2 separate regions of the Homo sapiens genome follow, and region 2 is linked to region 1. The links are contacts of gene promoters, found by promoter capture Hi-C in blood cells and fetal thymus (Javierre and others, 2016). All regions are on one chromosome and are shown on one strand. The core of a region is centred on a gene start or on the middle of the fragment in contact, and the rest is flanking DNA. Distances in the headings are between cores, read along the strand shown.

Region 1 (7,505 bases), core at 2,327-4,826:
TACATAGTCTTTCTCACTGTTGGTGCTTTACAAATACTTCCAAGGTTAATGGATAAAAAACAGAGTATATGTCTTGCTAGTTCATTTTCTTCTTTAAGATGTCATCACTTGGCTAAGTGAACAGTAATTGGTTTGAAAGTTCCCACATGGAAGATGAATAACTTACAGCTAAAGAAGATATCTTGACAAAGATCTGGGGGTCAGAGTGGCTAACATGCTGAAAGTCACTCATTTAGCCCATATCCTTAAGCACCAACTAAGTAGAATGCTGAGCGAATGCTGCAGATCACAATCTACCTCTGAGGAATCTACCTCCGAGCTGCACAAACAGGGGCCTAGACCACGAGAACGGCTCCCTGCTATGAGTGGATGCTAGGGCTGCAGAATTGATTTTACAGAATGTTAAGAAGTTACCTGCTTGTAAATAAACCCTTAGAAATGAAGCTTCTCCCAAGCAGAGAACAAGACTGACCCTTGCCAAACTCAAATGCATGGCCAGCTATATTGACTGGGAGCCAGGGACACCAGCCTTCCCTGGACCCCTCACAGCTGGCTGCTTACCCAGCTCTGGTGGCACACTTAGCGTCCCGAGGAGGCAGGTCACAAGGACAGGGGGTCTGGGAGACCCTGAGCCCCAAGAGGCAATCCCCTGTGTTCTCAGAACCAGGTACCTCCAGCGGACACAGCCTTCCAGGACCCCAGCTCCCGGCAGGAGCCATGCAGTCCTTCTGCGTGCCCGGTGCCCTTCCCCCCACCTCCACCCAGCCCCGAGAACATCTGACCTGGACTCCACAGCCTGGAAACCTGCGGCCACCTGCTGAGGGCCCCCCCACCCACTGCTTGGGTCCACTGACCAGTCCCCTTCCACATGTAGGCCTCATGCCAGCCCTCAGTGTTTCCCCGTGGATTTCAAGACGAAGCCTCAAGCCTTCATTACTGGGGTTCACAGGGCTCCATCTTCCCCTGCATCCTCCCTCCCACTGCCTGGGCTTTGGTCTCCCTGCCCTTCACTCACTCTCTGTCCCCAGGGCTTCTGTACATGCTGTTCCCCCATCCCGACACCATTCCACATCTGAGCTGCTTCTCCTTTAGATTCCGGCTTGACTGCCTGTCTTCTCCAGAGGAGTCTCTCCTAATTGCCCATCCCCCAGTCAGGATGCCACCCCTGTATCAACCACGACCTCCCCGCTCCCCTGTGCTGCCTGCAATAAAGCCATCAGTGCCGTGACTTGTTCAAAGTTGTCCACTCTAACAGGACTCCAGGATCACAGAGGCAGGGATCCCCTCCTGGAATCCAGTGCCTCACTCAGTGCATAGCAGGGTCTTAATCAACAATTGTTAGATGGGTGGATGGACAAACAGATGGATGAATGAAGGGGCACAGGGAGGGTCTGGTGGCTTCTATGGAGAGTTCCCAAAATGTCTCAAATATCTTTGCTAAAATGCAAGGACTTAAGGCACATTCTTAGGAGGTATCCAGCTGGAGTCAGAGATGCCTCCTTGTCCCTTGGGGAGCCAGCGAGCTCCTAGCCCCCGGGACAACTCAACATCTCCATGGAGGCCACTGTGGTGGTCGCTGGTGCCGGGTCCACAGGCGTTCACTGTGTTCTCCACCGTGGCGCTTCTTCCCCTGGGGCCCTCACGGTCAGTGCAGAGCACCAAAGAGTTGCCGCTGTGTAGAGAATTCTTATAATTGTGCATTGCATCCATTTTGAATCTAATTTGGACCCTCTCCTACCAGAAGCAGGGTTTATTGCTCTTGACACGGTGTCTAGGGCTCCACCCCCTCCCAGTTCCTCAATGCGGCCAACCCAGATATCTGCCTTGTACACCCACCTCCTGGTGACCATTTCCCTGTGGGACAGGCAGATACAGCCCATTTGATGGTCTCAGTGACTCCACACCCCACAGGGACTTCCCAGACATGCCGCCATGCCCACCTCTCAGCCACAGGGACCCCACGGAGCCCGTGTCTGTTTGCTCTAAACCCACCAGTGAGAAGTCCCCTTGGGAAACCTGCTTGGGAAACGTCCTGGACCCCAATAAAGGCTTAGGACCCAGGTCTCTCTCTCTCCCTTCACCCCCCTCCAGGTGAGTGTTTGTGACCCAGACAGCTCCCCACTTTTTGCTGGCCCCGTGGGGTGCACTGCCCTCTCCCTGGGATCTGTAAGTGACACGGTGCTTGTGTTGCTTCCTGTGTCTTCTTGTGCTGCCTCCTGCATCTCCCCTGACCCACACCCCAACCCAACTCTCCTCCCATCAGGGATCTCTTAGGAAGTGGCTGTCTTGATAGGAATAAACTGGACATGGGTCAGACGAGAGCCACAAGGGTGTCTGTCCATAGAAACAAGTTTTATGTGAGAGAGACCCCTGGTCACTGGGCAGGGCTAGAATTTATAGTCAGTCTCTCAAAGTGAGAGATACAGCCTGCTACCAATGACAGGGGACTTGGAGAGCAGTGGAGCCTCTCCCTCAGCTGAGATGGTGCTGAGGTGTGGTCCCCTCAGGCCCCCAGAGTTTCCTGGCACTGGCTCCAGCAGCCCAGGGTCACCTTCTCAGCAAGTCATCATGGGTTGGCTTCCTCCTTGTCTGTTTCACTTCCCCTCCCACATAAACTAGTCTCCCCAAATCCTGTCTCAGGGTCCCCTCCTGGGGGATCCCAACCAATGAGCAAAGGTCTGTGGCTGCAGGAAAAGCACACTGTGAGTCCCTGGCTTTTGCCGAGTCGCGGTGTCGCGGGAGGGCCTGCCCGGGCTTCGATTCCCGCTCCCTGCCCAGATTTCCGGCCCTTGCTAGGAATCCTGAGCCGGGGGAAGTGAGCCTGCAAGCCCTGCGCCACGAGGCCGGACACATTTTCATTTTCTTTCTGATGCTTTTTGTGACCCTGACACCTCACAATGCAATATTTCCACTATGAAACCCCCAGAACTGCCAAATTTCACCCAATTTGGATTAACATTATCGAGGAGCTTGGCATTATGTTGAAAACCCAGACATTCCCACGACCCGTATCCTATTTAAAAAATGCCTGTCTATTTAAGGTTCACGATGGGAGGATAAAAGAAAAAAGGCTCCCAAAGTCAACAGAGAACATGAGCTAGGCAAAAGGAAAGTCCAGTTTGCTTCTAAAAAAGGCTGAAAATTATAACCATCCATGGCCTTGTGTCTTAAGTCTCAGAATTTTTTTTTTCTCTTTTGGTGGTTTGCAAACCAAAGTGGAATTTTATTATGGGTTACTAAGGGAGCTTCCTCGAGTTCCTAGCCCCCAAAGCCCCTGCTCACTCCATGGCATGCCTCCGAGGCTCCTCATGCCATGAGAAAGAGAATGGAGCCAAAATCAAGCCGGCAGTATCTCGGGGCTGTAACGTCTTCCCCCCGTCGCTGTTTCCACAGTGCTGAGCCAGGGACCCGGCAGAGCTGCCTGACTCCTTTTATGAACAACAGCACCGTGATGAAGGCAGCAGGAGTCAGAGAACTATTCATTGCAGGAAGCCCCAACATCCGGTGAGAAATAAGAAGTACAACAGTACAGGATGCGCCTTGGGTCAGGGGGACGTGGAAAGCCCTCAGCCTTTGTGTCCTTCTCTGCGCCGGAGTGGCTGCAGCTCACCCCTCAGCTCCCCTTGGGGCCCAGCTGGGAGCCGAGATAGAAGCTCCTGTCGCCGCTGGGCTTCTCGCCTCCCGCAGAGGGCCACACAGAGACCGGGATGGCCACCTCCATGGGCCTGCTGCTGCTGCTGCTGCTGCTCCTGACCCAGCCCGGGGCGGGGACGGGAGCTGACACGGAGGCGGTGGTCTGCGTGGGGACCGCCTGCTACACGGCCCACTCGGGCAAGCTGAGCGCTGCCGAGGCCCAGAACCACTGCAACCAGAACGGGGGCAACCTGGCCACTGTGAAGAGCAAGGAGGAGGCCCAGCACGTCCAGCGAGTACTGGCCCAGCTCCTGAGGCGGGAGGCAGCCCTGACGGCGAGGATGAGCAAGTTCTGGATTGGGCTCCAGCGAGAGAAGGGCAAGTGCCTGGACCCTAGTCTGCCGCTGAAGGGCTTCAGCTGGGTGGGCGGGGGGGAGGACACGCCTTACTCTAACTGGCACAAGGAGCTCCGGAACTCGTGCATCTCCAAGCGCTGTGTGTCTCTGCTGCTGGACCTGTCCCAGCCGCTCCTTCCCAGCCGCCTCCCCAAGTGGTCTGAGGGCCCCTGTGGGAGCCCAGGCTCCCCCGGAAGTAACATTGAGGGCTTCGTGTGCAAGTTCAGCTTCAAAGGCATGTGCCGGCCTCTGGCCCTGGGGGGCCCAGGTCAGGTGACCTACACCACCCCCTTCCAGACCACCAGTTCCTCCTTGGAGGCTGTGCCCTTTGCCTCTGCGGCCAATGTAGCCTGTGGGGAAGGTGACAAGGACGAGACTCAGAGTCATTATTTCCTGTGCAAGGAGAAGGCCCCCGATGTGTTCGACTGGGGCAGCTCGGGCCCCCTCTGTGTCAGCCCCAAGTATGGCTGCAACTTCAACAATGGGGGCTGCCACCAGGACTGCTTTGAAGGGGGGGATGGCTCCTTCCTCTGCGGCTGCCGACCAGGATTCCGGCTGCTGGATGACCTGGTGACCTGTGCCTCTCGAAACCCTTGCAGCTCCAGCCCATGTCGTGGGGGGGCCACGTGCGTCCTGGGACCCCATGGGAAAAACTACACGTGCCGCTGCCCCCAAGGGTACCAGCTGGACTCGAGTCAGCTGGACTGTGTGGACGTGGATGAATGCCAGGACTCCCCCTGTGCCCAGGAGTGTGTCAACACCCCTGGGGGCTTCCGCTGCGAATGCTGGGTTGGCTATGAGCCGGGCGGTCCTGGAGAGGGGGCCTGTCAGGATGTGGATGAGTGTGCTCTGGGTCGCTCGCCTTGCGCCCAGGGCTGCACCAACACAGATGGCTCATTTCACTGCTCCTGTGAGGAGGGCTACGTCCTGGCCGGGGAGGACGGGACTCAGTGCCAGGACGTGGATGAGTGTGTGGGCCCGGGGGGCCCCCTCTGCGACAGCTTGTGCTTCAACACACAAGGGTCCTTCCACTGTGGCTGCCTGCCAGGCTGGGTGCTGGCCCCAAATGGGGTCTCTTGCACCATGGGGCCTGTGTCTCTGGGACCACCATCTGGGCCCCCCGATGAGGAGGACAAAGGAGAGAAAGAAGGGAGCACCGTGCCCCGTGCTGCAACAGCCAGTCCCACAAGGGGCCCCGAGGGCACCCCCAAGGCTACACCCACCACAAGTAGACCTTCGCTGTCATCTGACGCCCCCATCACATCTGCCCCACTCAAGATGCTGGCCCCCAGTGGGTCCCCAGGCGTCTGGAGGGAGCCCAGCATCCATCACGCCACAGCTGCCTCTGGCCCCCAGGAGCCTGCAGGTGGGGACTCCTCCGTGGCCACACAAAACAACGATGGCACTGACGGGCAAAAGCTGCTTTTATTCTACATCCTAGGCACCGTGGTGGCCATCCTACTCCTGCTGGCCCTGGCTCTGGGGCTACTGGTCTATCGCAAGCGGAGAGCGAAGAGGGAGGAGAAGAAGGAGAAGAAGCCCCAGAATGCGGCAGACAGTTACTCCTGGGTTCCAGAGCGAGCTGAGAGCAGGGCCATGGAGAACCAGTACAGGTAAAGGGGGCCCTGAGTGACCGGGGGAGGGGATGGGCAGGCATGGGGGCACTGACTACAGTACAAAGAGGTGGCAGCAAGAGCAGGCCCAGGTTTCCTGTGGGCAGACACACCCTGGTCCTTGCAGCTGACCCCTCAACCTCCCCCCACGCCAGGCACTCGGGCCCCCTTAGAGCATACTGCCCATCTGCAGCACGGCCGCACGTGGGGCTCTCTCCCAAGGTGGGGACGTGCAGGCACAGAGGCGCCATGGCTTCCAACGCTGTCTGTTTTGTTTCCCATAGTCCGACACCTGGGACAGACTGCTGAAAGTGAGGTGGCCCTAGAGACACTAGAGTCACCAGCCACCATCCTCAGAGCTTTGAACTCCCCATTCCAAAGGGGCACCCACATTTTTTTGAAAGACTGGACTGGAATCTTAGCAAACAATTGTAAGTCTCCTCCTTAAAGGCCCCTTGGAACATGCAGGTATTTTCTACGGGTGTTTGATGTTCCTGAAGTGGAAGCTGTGTGTTGGCGTGCCACGGTGGGGATTTCGTGACTCTATAATGATTGTTACTCCCCCTCCCTTTTCAAATTCCAATGTGACCAATTCCGGATCAGGGTGTGAGGAGGCCGGGGCTAAGGGGCTCCCCTGAATATCTTCTCTGCTCACTTCCACCATCTAAGAGGAAAAGGTGAGTTGCTCATGCTGATTAGGATTGAAATGATTTGTTTCTCTTCCTAGGATGAAAACTAAATCAATTAATTATTCAATTAGGTAAGAAGATCTGGTTTTTTGGTCAAAGGGAACATGTTCGGACTGGAAACATTTCTTTACATTTGCATTCCTCCATTTCGCCAGCACAAGTCTTGCTAAATGTGATACTGTTGACATCCTCCAGAATGGCCAGAAGTGCAATTAACCTCTTAGGTGGCAAGGAGGCAGGAAGTGCCTCTTTAGTTCTTACATTTCTAATAGCCTTGGGTTTATTTGCAAAGGAAGCTTGAAAAATATGAGAAAAGTTGCTTGAAGTGCATTACAGGTGTTTGTGAAGTCACATAATCTACGGGGCTAGGGCGAGAGAGGCCAGGGATTTGTTCACAGATACTTGAATTAATTCATCCAAATGTACTGAGGTTACCACACACTTGACTACGGATGTGATCAACACTAACAAGGAAACAAATTCAAGGACAACCTGTCTTTGAGCCAGGGCAGGCCTCAGACACCCTGCCTGTGGCCCCGCCTCCACTTCATCCTGCCCGGAATGCCAGTGCTCCGAGCTCAGACAGAGGAAGCCCTGCAGAAAGTTCCATCAGGCTGTTTCCTAAAGGATGTGTGAACGGGAGATGATGCACTGTGTTTTGAAAGTTGTCATTTTAAAGCATTTTAGCACAGTTCATAGTCCACAGTTGATGCAGCATCCTGAGATTTTAAATCCTGAAGTGTGGGTGGCGCACACACCAAGTAGGGAGCTAGTCAGGCAGTTTGCTTAAGGAACTTTTGTTCTCTGTCTCTTTTCCTTAAAATTGGGGGTAAGGAGGGAAGGAAGAGGGAAAGAGATGACTAACTAAAATCATTTTTACAGCAAAAACTGCTCAAAGCCATTTAAATTATATCCTCATTTTAAAAGTTACATTTGCAAATATTTCTCCCTATGATAATGTAGTCGATAGTGTGCACTCTTTCTCTCTCTCTCTCTCTCTCACACACACACACACACACACACACACACACACAGAGACACGGCACCATTCTGCCTGGGGCACTGGAACACATTCCTGGGGGTCACCGATGGTCAGAGTCACTAGAAGTTACCTGAGTATCTCTGGGAGGCCTCATGTCTCCTGTGGGCTTTTTACCACCACTGTGCAGGAGAAC
Region 2 (7,505 bases), core at 1,326-3,825, 740 kb after region 1:
AATAAAGCAAGTCATTTCTCAGGAGCACAGTATTAGGAAAATAGTTTTGAATTTATGGACCTCTGAAAAGGATCCTTAGGGCCTCGAGGGTCTCTGGACCATATTTTCAGAACCACTGGCCTAGGGTGATTTTTAAAAATTATTAGACTTTACTCTTAGATCAGTTTGAGACCCCAAAAGGCCCTCATTCTATTGTGCAGCCAGGGTTGGGAATCGCCACTGTCTGTTGTCTTATTGTCTAAAACGCATCTGCGATCCTCCCTGACCACCCCCAATGCCCCCACCCGGCTCCCGCTTTCAGAGCGAAGGTCGCCGCGCTCCTTCGTCGCGGGGCCCTCCTGGTGCCTGAGTCAGGTCCCATGCGGAACGTGGGCGTGCGGGGACAGCGGGAGACCAAGGCAAGGGCGACGGCTTCCGGGAAGCAGAATATGCTGCCATCACATCCTGGACCAGGTCAACTTCTGTCTGGACCACCGGCAGGAGAACGACCCCCTCCACGCCTGCCTCCAGTAGCCGCTGAAGTCCAACCGGAAGAGGCGCCTTGAGTTCCAGCAGCAGCTCCGGGAGGTCCCGGCCATGCCAGTCCCTAGGTTCCGGGTGCCCCGAAACAGGCCCAACCGTGTCCCCTGGGCCAGGCTCCGGCTTGGGCACTCACCTCTTGGCTTAAATACCTTCTCCAGGGCCAGCCTTCAGGGTACCCTGGTGGGTCTGCAGCCTGGGACAGCTTCCCACACCTTCCCACAGTCCCCTTTGCCTGTCTAAGCTGGTCCCCACCGCCTGGCATCCCCTTCTGGGGCCAGAGGTGGGCCTGAGTCCCACCCACGTGCCTGCCTGCTCAGCCTTCTGTGCACTTCCTACTCTGTCCAGGCCTTGAGCGTCCACATTCAATGGATCTCACACACACACACACACACACACACACACACACACACACACACATCAATCAATTGCATCGGGTGTCCTATCAAAAGTCCAAACTCCGGCCGAGAGCGGTGGCTCACGCCTGTAATTCTAGCACTTTGAGAAGCCGAGGTGGGTGGATCAGGAGGTCAGGAATTCGAGACCAGCCTGGCCAAGATGGTGAAACTCCGTCTCTACTAAAAAATACAAAAATTAGTCGGGCACGGTGGCGGACGCCTGTAATCCCAGCCGCTCAGGAGGCTGAGGCAGGAGAATTGCTTGAACCTGGGAGGCAGACTTTGCAGTGAGCCGAGATCGTGCCACTGCACTCTAGCCTGGGCAACAGAGAAAGACTCTGTCAAAACAAAACAAAACAAAACAAAACAAAACAAAACAAAACACCAAAAACAAAACGTCCAAACTCCTTAGCAGGGTAGAGTCCCTAAGACCTAATAGCCTTCTTTCTGTCTTGTGGTCCCAGGTCTCCAGGGACAAGCGTGGTGTTAGCCTGACAATATTCAACTGAAGTTCTCAAGCTTTTTCCTCTGTGCAGCACTGGGAGACTTGCAGCCCTCTGCAAAACTGTCCTCTTATTTCTACCTGAGTTCCCCAGGTGGGGCCCAATAAACCCTGCTAATAATTCTCCACCAAAAGATTGTCATTTTAAGGAGTGCAGAGAAAGTGTCTTTTTTACAGGACTATTGTCAGCACTTCCTTGCAAGTGGTAGCTCAGTAAACATTTATCGAATGAATGAATGAATGAATGAATGCCACATGAACACAGCCACAAAGATGCCGAGTTCACCATCAAGCTACTCTGTTGTTCTATGTCTTGTTTTATGGATTTTAAACATGTGCTTCTCCATTCTAACGACTCATTGAGTGGGGAGTGTGTGTGTGTGTGTGTGTGTGTGTGTGTGTATCTCACGGAACAAGCTTGTGAGCCTGTCTATTTCACTCTAAGGAAGTTCACCAAATATATGAATTCTTGTCAGCTGGGCCCAGCCAGCCCTCCGCATGTGCCCTGAGCCATTGAGGCAACTAGAGGGTGTCCATGTCCAGTCGGAAGGTTGAATGCTGGTTGGGTGCTGTGTGCTGGTGGCCTAGGACAGGGTCAGGTTAGGAATAGCAGTCCCTTTAGGATTGTTCCTTCTTCTACACCCCTCAGCTTGCATGCATGTGCAGGTGTGTGTGTGTGTGCGCGTGTGCATGCATATGTATGTGAGAGAGAGTGTATGTGTATGTGCATTTTGAACCATTTGAAAGTGAGCTAAAGATAGCATCCCCTCTGCCTAATATATATTTTGGTGTCTATTTCCAAAGAACAGGATATCCCTTTCCATAACCATAACAGTTACCCAAATCGGCACATTTAACTTGGATACAATACTTTCAATCCACAGACTGTATTTAAATGTTGCCAGTTTCTCCAGTGATATACTTTAGAGCTATGCTCCGTCTCTTCGGTCTGCTTTAATTTTGGACAACTCCTCAGTAGTTTTTGTCTGATTTGACCTTGGCATTTTTGAGAGGTGCAGGTCACTTTATGTTATAGCCGATATATCCATTTGGCACTGGTCATGTGAATATCTAAATAATAAGAAGTCCTGGTCCCACGTATAATGGGATAAGCACATGCCACTCATCTTGCTCAGCGGATGTCGCTATAAAACCTGAACATAAGGCACAGGGCAGCTGTGAGGACTCTGAAAAGTGACTCATAGAAGAGGACTGGAACTTAAAGTGCTGAAACTGCTGGTGATTTTTTTTTTTTGTCTGTTACTTTTATCCCTCGGCACTCGATGCAGATGCAGTTGCTGAAGTACACACAGAACCAAGTAACTAAAATTCCAGCTTTGTTGCCAGAAGACCTAAAAAGGGACTCCAGGGAACTAGAAAATCCTGGGAGCTCATGGAGAGGGAGGAGTTCAGAGAGTGGCCCACACAGTTGACATGGGTTTGACGAAATACACACAGGAGATGCTAAGAGTGGAGCAAGAGAGACTCAGGCCTGGACCAGCCATGGTGGGGCACATAACTGATCAATGTAAAAAACACTGCCAAGGCTTTTGTTTCTTTGAGTTCTTAAATAATTAATTAATAGACTATTTTTAGAGCAGTTTTAGGTTTTTGGAAAATTGAGTAGATGGTATCAAGTTCCCATATGCTCCTGCACCCCCCCACTCCCCTTATTATTACCATCTTGCAATGATGTGGTACATTTGTTATAATTGATGAGCCAATATTGTTATGTTATTATTCATTAAAGTCCATAGTTAAGTCCAGAGTTCACATTAGGGTTCACTCTTGGGTACATCCTATGGGTTTTGACAAATGCATAATGACATGCATCCACCATAGGGTACCATACAGAATACTTTTAACTGCCCTAAAAATCTCCTGTGCTAAGCTTGTGTGGTGGTGTGTGCCTGTGGTCTCAGCTATTCTGGAGGCTGCAATGGGAGATCCCTTGAGTCCCATAGTTCAAGGCTGCAGTGAGCTATGATCATGCTTCAGCTTGGGTGACAGAATAAGACCCCGTCTTAAAAAAATAAAAATTAAAAAATTGTCTCTCCTGTACCTATTCATCCCTCCCTCTACTCATCCCCAACAACCCCACCCCAGCTGAACCTCTGACAAACACTACTCTTTTTACTTCTCCATAGATTTGGCTTTTCCAGAATGTCATATCGTTGAAATCATACAGTATGCAGCCTTTTCAGATTGACTTCTTTCTTTATCAATATGCGTTTAAGGTTCCTCTATGTCTTTTTCTGTGGCTGGTTAGCTTTTTCTTTTTATTACTGAATAATATTCCATCGTCTGGATGTACTACAGTCTGTTTATCCACTCGCTGTTGAAGGACATCTTGGTTGTATCCAAATTTTGGCAATTATGAATAAAGTTGGCATAAACATTCTCATGTAGTTTTTTTGTAGAGACACAAGTTTTCAACTTATCTGGGCAAATATCAAAGAGCCTGCCTGCTGCTTCACAGGGTAACAATATGATTACTTTTGTAAGAAACTGCCAATCTCCCTTCCAAGTCAGCTGAACTGTTTTGCACAGGCTTTGGACTTGGAGTTATGCAAGGGTAAGCTGAAGTCTCTAAGAGGGCATGATAGGGCTGGTTTTGTGAGTTTTGGAAAACTACAAACATGATTCAGCTGCAACAGTGGGAAGGAACTGCCACTGCTGGGTGGAAGCGGCCTTGCTGGAGAGATGCTGGGAGGAGGAGGAAGTCCTCAGGAGGAACGGTCGGGCCCCTCTCCCTCCAGATTTGCGGCCTCACTCTAGCGTCCCCTTGCCAGGAGCATCTGGCCAAGCCCAACTGCAGTTTGCAGAGTCCCAGTGCTGGCATCACAAGGCAGGATATAGAAAGGTGGGTTTGGAGCCAAGAGAAAATCATTTAATAATGGCATTACTCCCAGCCCCCGCTGGGATAAGTCCCTATCTTATTAAAGCGATAACACAAAGCAGTAGTGAAATTAACAGCACTAGACATGCCACTTTCTCTCTGGACATCGGCATTTCTGTAGGGCAGTAATTTCTACGATCTAAGATTGCCTCCCTGCTGGACTCAGAAAAGAGGTAACAAAAGTGGGTAAGTTTCTATTTAGTCCTGCCAGTCCAGCCTTACTTGAATTGAGGCTGAGCCTGGAGAAAGCTAGATTCCTGGAAGCAGCAGTCCTGCAAACCCTGAGCAGCTGAGCACAAACCACAGCCTGTCTAACGTTCTATTTACATTATTGCCTGCCTTTTGTAATGGAGGGGGGCAGAGAATCACGACTCTGCTTTAAAGTTTCAGCAGAGCTCCCCACACCTCAGCCCCTGCCCGAAATTCACAGGTACATGACGCAAGTTTACAAAAACGGAAAAAAAGCAACCATTTGGTTTGAGCTGAATTGAAAAGCAAAACAAAACAAAAAAACCCTCAGAGTTTCTTTTGAAAATTATAATCCTTCTCTTTATCTCTCTACAATCACTTTCAGTGAGGCTCACGTTCATCTTTAACCTTTAATCTTCCGAAGTGTTCAAGGATGGACGCTAGTGACGAAGTGTCAATTTGCTGGTCTAACACGCCTCCTGGTGGTCAAAACTATCCAAGATCTTAACAGGTATTAGACAACTCCATGGCCTTAAATGAGCATGGAAAAAAGTATGAAGCCAGAATATGACACAACTGACTGAAAAAAAATACATGACACCATTTGTAGGGATAAAAATGTGTCTCTGTTTAGCAAGAAAAGCCACACCATAGGTGCTGTCATTCCATTTAAAAAATCAGATTATTCACATATTCTGGTAGTTTTTATTACAGCTTCAACTTCTAGCTTCTGTTTTGTGATATTTTGCCATGTCATACAGTTTTGGTTGCCATATAAGTAAGAAGGAAAGCCATTGTGGATTCACTTCTGAATATTAAAGATAAAATAAAGGCTGCATAGGGACCTATACTTTGATATAAAATAAATGTTCTTTATTGTTCAATAAGCCCTACTTATTTTCTCCTCCTGTCAAGGAAAATTTAAAGATAATTAAATAAATTAAAATTCATTGACCTATAGGTTAATAAAGTCCATTAATATTCCTACTGTTTATAAGAGCTTGAGAGATAAGCCAAATGATTGATAGTCTATGATATAGTATCTTTCTGGAATCATCCTCTGTAAATTTCCACAAGGAGGATTTTCTTTTCTTTTTCAAAAATCACTTTATTGAGGTAAAATTAATATGTATAAAGCTATACATAATTAAATGTCTAGACCTCTCGAAGTTTCTTCTCACCCCTATTATTATTATTATAAGAACGCGTCATATAAGCTCTACCCTCTTAGAGAATCTTAGGAATGCAATACTGCATCATTAGCTGTTGGCACTATCCTGCACCACAGTCTCCAGAACCTACTCCTCTCGCCTGGCTGAAACTTTCCACCTTTGATCAACACCTCTGCTTCCCCCCGCAGCCCCTGGAAACCACCATTACACCCTTGACTTTTACAGTTTCACTATTTTGGATTCCATGTATAAGTGAGATCACGTGATATTTGTCTTTCTGTGCCTGGCTGATTTCACTTAACATAATGTCCTCCAGCTCCATCCATGTTGTCACAGATTACAGAATTATCTTCCTTTTTGGAGGTTGAATAATACTCCACTGTAAGTGTATACCACATTCTTTTTATCCATGCATCACAGATGGGATTTAGGCTCTTTCTACTATACCTTGGCTATTGTGAATAATGCTGCTATGAGCATGGGGTCAAGTATCTCTGTGAGATCCCAAGAGTCCTGGTCTTCCCTCTGTGATGACCCTGCTCTGGGTATTTTACTGGGAGAGCAGAGAAGAATGGAGTGGAGAATGTTCTTGACTGAGTGTTACCATTGCAGAGGCTAGGAGTTCAAAGAACCAAAATTTAAGTCTCAACTTCAAATCCCAGACCCAGCTTTCACTTATGTGTGGAAATTGGAATATCATTATTCATCTCCCGTTCTTTTCTACACTGTCTAATAAGAACAGTGGCTACCTAACAGGGACATGGCTCCTTGAGAGCAGGAATCTTGTCTGTTTCTAGCTACTGGTCTGCCCCTAGTGCCTGAGAACTGAAAGCAGATGGCCTTGGTAAACAATATGGAGAACAAGCAAAAATGACTTACCTGCAATGCTGAGAACAAGCAAAAATCACATCCAGGAATTTCTCCTGAAATTAAGACTCTGCACCAATTACATTGTTTCCTTATCAAGACTAACACTAGTTCATTTCACTTCCTTCATCTTGCTGTGCTACCAATCTATAGTTGGTCAGAAACTCTGCCCAAACCCAGTGGCTTCCCACCTTCCAAAATCGACCTTAAAAATTACTACCGCCTTCTCACTAAAACCCAGTAAACATCCTTTCCTGACTTCCCCGTTCTGAGACCCTATGCTCAGAGGCTCCCCCAACTGCCCTCCGCAAATGCAGCAGGTGAAACAAATTTCGCTTTGCTGGATCAATAGTCTTTTCTGGTGTTTCTGCATGTTCAAGAGTAGACATATCTAACTCACAGTAAGCCCTGGCAAACATTGGTTTCCTTGCCTTCCTAGACCTTTCCTGCAAATGAATGGCCTTTATAGGACAGGCCACGAGATGACCCTCATGGTGGATCCTGTTGCTGTGACTTACCAGGTTCATGACCTTGGGAAATTTGCCAAACCTCTCCAAGGTTTAGTTTCTTCTCTGTCAAGTGGGGATCAGTAATAGTCCACATCTTACATATTTTCTATAAGGATTAGAAGAGCAAAGTCACATTCTAAGTTTTGGTTGTTATTCCTCAAAATTAATTTTCTCCTTTGGAGTCTATCTAACCAACCAGGCTGCAAAGGAAGAGCAGGCATTTCAAGGATCTTTGACTTTCATAATTATCCACGAAGTTTTACTCTAAAGAGACATCCAAAGACCCAAATTAAATTCTAGGTTAACTTATAGCCAACCTGGAGACACACAGTCCCCCAAACCTCCACACTGTCCAGGCAGTGAGCACACAGATGGGAATAGATTCAAATAGGTGGAAACATTCTGAAGCCCAAAGATAGGGGCAGTGATGGATCTGAATTTCCCCAGAAA

Evidence for each region. The method cuts DNA at HindIII sites, captures the fragments that hold promoters and counts their contacts. A CHiCAGO score of 5 or more calls a contact.
Region 2: a fragment that was not itself captured here is called in contact with the fragment with the promoter of CD93 in region 1 in 1 of 17 cell types (erythroblasts); the score reaches 5.6 in erythroblasts.

What each region holds. Positions count from the first base shown.
Region 1 is chr20:23,082,395-23,089,899 of GRCh38, reverse strand. It overlaps CD93 (CD93 molecule), which reads left to right and starts at 3,576. Exons shown (of 2, transcript NM_012072.4): 1 at 3,576-5,641; 2 at 5,926-7,505. The coding sequence starts at 3,708. The coding sequence ends at 5,950. RefSeq lists enhancers at 1,746-1,885, 3,413-3,592. The HindIII fragment of the contact is 6,182 bases long and covers 447-6,628 here.
Region 2 is chr20:22,336,775-22,344,279 of GRCh38, reverse strand. It overlaps the pseudogene BBLNP1. Among named protein-coding and RNA genes, the nearest start is that of LINC01427, 58 kb to the right of the region's middle. The HindIII fragment of the contact is 1,474 bases long and covers 1,839-3,312 here.